Linked DNA regions of Homo sapiens: region 1 is linked to region 2. Evidence: promoter capture Hi-C in 16 types of primary human blood cells and fetal thymus (Javierre and others, 2016). All regions are on one chromosome and are shown on one strand. Each heading gives the region's core, a stretch centred on a gene start or on the middle of the fragment in contact. The rest is flanking DNA. Distances are from core to core; before and after follow the strand shown.

Region 1 (2,700 bases), core at 104-2,603, 140 kb before region 2:
TTCCCAAACCTGGCAAGATAGGCCAACATTCAAATTCAGGAAATACAGAGAACACCACTAAGATACTCCATGAGAAGACCAACCCCAAGACAGATAATAATCAATTCTCCAAGGTTGAAATGAAGGAAAAAATATTAAGGGCAGCCAGAGAGAAAGTCCAGGTCACTTACAAAGGGAAGCTGATCAGACTAACAGCAGACCTCTCAGCAGAAACCCTGCAAGCCAGAAGAGAGGGGTGGGCAATATTCAATATTCTTAAAGAAAAGAATTTTCAACCCAGAATTTCATATCCAGCCAAACTAAGCTTCATAAGTGAAGGAGAAATAGGATCCCTTTCAGACAAGCAAATACTGAGGGATTTCATCACCACCAGGCCTGCCTTGCAAGAGCACTAAATATGGAAAGGAAAAACCAGTACCAGCCACTGCGAAAAAACACCAAAATATACACTTGATCTTAGCCAAAAGGCTGAGAAGCAATAAACACACCAAAATATAAAGACCAACGACACTATGAAGAAACTGCATCAATTAGTGTGCAAAATAACCATATAGCATCAAGATGACAGGATCAAACTCACACATAACAATATTAACCTTAAATTTACATGAGCTAAAAGCCCCAATTAAAAGACACAGATTGGCAAATTGGATAAAGAGTCAAGACCCATCAATGTGCTGTATTCAGGAGATGTGCAAAGACACACATAGGCTCAAAATAAAGGAATGGAGGAAAATTTACCAAGCAAATGGAAATAAAAAAAAAGCAGGGGTTGCAATCCTAGTCTCTGATAAAACAAACTTGAAACCAACAAAGATAAAAAAAGAGAAGGGCATTACATAATGGTAAAGGGGTCAATTCAACAAAAAAAGCTAATTATCCTAAATATATATCCACCCAATACAGGAGCACCAAGATTAATAAAACAAGTTCTTAGAGATCTACAAAGAGACTTAGACTCACACACAATAATAGTGGGAGACTAACACCCCACTGTCAATATTAGACAGATCAACAAGACAGAAAATTAACAAAGATATCCAGGACATGAACTCAGCTCTGAATCAAGTGGACCTAATAGATATCTACAGAATTCTCCACCCCAAATTAACAGAATATACATTCTTTTCAGTGCCACATGGCACTTATTCTAAAATCAACCACATAATTGAAAGAAAAACACTCCTCAACAATTGCAAAAGAACTGAAATAATAACACACTGTCTCTCAGACCACAGTGCAATCAAATTAGAACTCAGATTAAGAAATTCACTCAAAACCGCACAACTACATGAAAATTGAACAACCTGCTTCTGAATGACTCCTGGGTAAATAATGAAATTAATGCAGAAATAACGAAGTTCTTTGAAACCATTGAGAACAAAGAGACAACATACCAGAATCTGTGGGATGAAGCTAAAGCAGTGTTAAGAGGGAAATTTAAAGCACTAAATGCCCACATCAGAAAGCTCGAAAGATCTCAAATCAAAATCCTAACATCACAACTAAAAGAACTAGAGGAGCAAGAGCAAACAAATCCAAAGCTAGCAGAAGACAAGAAATAACTAAGATCAGAGCAGAACTGAAGGAGAGAGAGACATGAAAAACCCTTCAAAAAATCAATGGCTTGGAACCAACCCAAATGCCCATCAATGATAGACTGTATAAAGAAAATGTGCCACATATACACCATGGAATACTATGCAGCCATAAAAAGAAATGAGATTATGTCCTTTGCAGGGACATGGATGAAGCTGGAAGCCGTCATTCTCAGCAAACCAACACAGGAAGAGAAAACCAAATTCCTTATGTTCTCTCTCATAAATGGGAGTTGAACAATGAGAACACATGGACTCAGGAAGGGGAACAACACTCACCAGGGCCTATTGGTGGGTGGGAGGCGAGGGGAGGGAACCTCGATGACTGGTTAATAGGTGCAGGAAACCATCATGGCACACGTATACCTATGTAACAAACCTGCAGGTTCTGCACATGTATCCCGGCACTTAAAGTTAAAAAAAAAAAAGAAAGGAATACTAACAATTTTAATTCTTATTTCAAAATAGAGCATGTCTAGTAAAAAAATTATTAATGACATAAAATAATTGACTAAAACATTTACAAATTGAGTATATATGTGTGTATAGGTAAATCTACACACACATATGTAAATATATACACACATTTTTTCCATAGATCCATAAAACATGCCATAGAGCAATCATTGAGCTTTCATAATCTGTGTCTGCCTTTTGCTTTGTAGTTTGGAGACCCTAAGATTAGTCACACGTAGATTCATATGTTTGATCAGCTAAGTTTTTGAGAAGGGACGTATGTGAAAAAAAATCAGTAGTAAATTGGTCTAGGTAACACGTAGACATCTGTACGTGGATTATTGGAACTTAAGCTTATTGGAACACAAAGAAAGAAGAGGTTATTTCTACTTGTGTTGAGAAAGATGGAGAGACAGAAAAGGCTTCATAGAGAAATGGTTACTTGGGTTGAGATAACACACAAATGAGACCTAATATCCATTAAATCGACAAGGTTCAGGGAAGGATGGTTCTGGTTAGAAGAGATGGCATGTGTAGAAGTATACAACATACATAGGGACATGATACAGCATGGCATAGAGGGAGAAAGCATTTCTTCACTCCAAACTAATGAGAGCCTCCCCTTTAGAGTATACTGCCACGAGGT
Region 2 (2,700 bases), core at 45-2,544:
ATATTCATTTACTCTACCATTCAATAACTTATGTACCTAATGTGTGATAATGCTTGCCAGGCATCTTCTTAAAACAATACTTTTAACCAAAGAGATGATGGTGAAATTTGAGACCAAGTAACAGATCATTACTGAAAGTTTTTCCCTACGACTTTAAAATCCTCTCTTGTGTCAGCACCCAATCTGTACTCCCAGAGGTGAAAAGGGCCAACTGCAACTCTACCCCAGCAGACAGCCAGAAAACACTCATTGCAGCATTCCTTGTCCCCCACCCCCCCACCCCTTTTGTGGCCTGCTTTGCAAAAGTCAATTAGGTCTGGAAGGGAAGTGGTAATTTCTCTTCAGGAGTTGGAAACATCAGGCCTTACTTCTCTTCCTAGTACCCCTTTCCCACCATGAAAGAATCATACAGAACTTTAGATAACTGTAATCAGAGAATCAGAAATTCTTAGAAACAGGAAAATTTAGAAGATCACAAAATCAAAACTAGAAAGGGTGGTGGAAATTACAGGCCAAGCCTTTTTTTCAGAGAGTGAATGACTTGCCTAGGGTCTCACAGTGAATTAGGATGAGAATAGAAATCTGTTTACTTTCTGTATAGTGACACTACATTCCTCTTCCACTTTCTTCACTTATTTCTGCTAATTATTCATCTCTCAATTCCCCAAATCTCTCCTTACCCAATTCATCATTCCCATCACCCCCACATCCTCTTAGTTTCCCTCCCTAGCTCTTCCCCCACCCCTAGGCTCCCCATGGGCTCTGACCCACTGAGCTCTGCTGTCAGCCCAGCAGGTAGAGGGAGTCAAAGGGAGAGAGGAATGGGGAATTGCAGGAAGAAATATTAAGCCATCGTTCTTGATAGAGAGGAAGAGAGAGACAGAAACACAGAGACGGAGAGATACAAAGCCGAGGAAAGAGACAAAAAGGGGGAGAGAAAGAAATTTAGAGAAAAAGATAGTTAGAATTCAGAGGGAAAAATAAGAGAAAGCAAGAGTGTCAGAGAATGATGAAATGAAATGAATGATCTTGAAAACTAACAAAAGAAAGTAACGAAGGGAAAAAGAGAGAAAAAAGCTGAAAATGAGGAAAGACAGAAAGAGACATGGGAGATAAAAAGAAAATGAAAAAGAGACAGATTCTAAGAAACAAACAAAGGAAAAAGTCAGATCTACTCAGACCAGAGAGTCAGTGTGTACAGCCCTGAGAGACCAGCTGGCAGACCAGAGATAGGGTGCCAGGCTGAAAGCAGCTCTTACCTGTTGCCCTGCACTGAGGACGAACGAATGACAGGTGGGTACTTGGGTTAGGACCTGGCATTTATCCCTTCTCCTCTGACTCAGCCCCACCCACCCTGCCTTCTGCCGGCCTGGCCCTGCATTGGCCCCAAAGGTATCTCAGTCCCTTCCTTGCTAGAGATAAAACCCAAAGTAGCCCCTCCCTCTAGTGTACCCCCTCCCCCAGCTCTGGCTCTTCCCTATTTTCTTCTCTCTATAGGACAGTAAAATTAGCTCATTTGGGCTTTGGAATCAGACCATCCACATAGAGCTGGGATACCTTGAGCAAAACCACCTCTCTGACTATAGATCTCCTCAACTATAAAAGGAGGGCAATAAAACCCAGAAGTGACTGTGGCACAAGTTGGGAGGGCTCTGGAGTCAGACCTAGAATACAGTGTTGTGCTTATGAGCTCAAACAGTCAGCTTCCACAGACTAGATCCCCGGTTGTTGTAACAATTTGGTAATATCATGTATGGAAAACGCATACCACAGTGCCTGGCCCAAATAAATAACACCTACTGTTGACTGAGTGCTTACAATGCACCAGACCCTTCACTAAGTGCTTTACATGAATTAATTTAGCCACATAAGGACCTTAAAAGATAGGTACTATTATCCCTATGTTACAGATGAAGAAACTGAGGCTCAGAGAGGTGAGGTAACTTGTTGATAATTACCCAACTAGAAAGTACAGAGCCCGCCTATGAACCTAGGCAATGTAGTTACAGAACCCACACTCTTCTCTTCCTCTCATAATATACAATTAAAAATGTGAAGTTCTCTGTCTTATCTTTTCTATTACCTTCTCCTCCCTTTTTCATTTTCTTCCCCTTTTGTCACTCTCTTTTTCCCCTTCCCTTATCAATCCTAAGGCAGCAGGACCATGTTATAACCAGACAATTTCATCTTTAGAGCAGATTGTCATCATTAATATTATATTTACATAAATAAGACCATAGTCTACATATTGATTTGCAATTTCTTTTTTTTGTTTGTTTTTCATTCAACCATATGCCAATATACCATGGAGGTTACAAAATCTGAATGCACTGTAATTTATTTAAACACTCCCTTATTGATATAAATTTAGGTTATTCCCAAGGATTTTCCCCCCTCCATTATGATTAATGTTGCAATGAACATCTTTTGGCATTTGTGAGAGCATTTTTTTAGAGGGTGGCATCCTAAAATATAAGCATTCCTGGATCTAAAGGTAATAGACATTTAAAGTTTTTGATACTGCCAATTTGTCCTATACATGTGTTATACACCCCTCCCCACCCAGTGGTGTATAAGAGTAAATGTGTATCTATTTTCTCACAAACTCACCAATACCATTTGTTATTTTCAATTTTTAAAATATTTGTTAATCTTATAGGCACTAAAAATGGTATATCAGTGTTGCTTTGATTTGCTTTT

What was found. The method cuts DNA at HindIII sites, captures the fragments that hold promoters and counts their contacts. A CHiCAGO score of 5 or more calls a contact.
Region 1: a contact is called between a fragment that was not itself captured here and the fragment with the promoter of ALAS2 in region 2, in 1 of 17 cell types (M2 macrophages). The highest score is 6.9, in M2 macrophages.

Annotation. Positions count from the first base shown.
Region 1 is chrX:54,889,081-54,891,780 of GRCh38, forward strand. No RefSeq gene overlaps it. Among named protein-coding and RNA genes, the nearest start is that of TRO, 30 kb to the right of the region's middle. The HindIII fragment of the contact is 2,103 bases long and covers 303-2,405 here.
Region 2 is chrX:55,029,683-55,032,382 of GRCh38, forward strand. It overlaps ALAS2 (5'-aminolevulinate synthase 2), which reads right to left and starts at 1,295. Exons shown (of 11, transcript NM_000032.5): 1 at 1,260-1,295. It also overlaps a transcript of PAGE2B not described here. RefSeq lists an enhancer at 1-1,300. The HindIII fragment of the contact is 13,021 bases long and covers 1-2,700 here.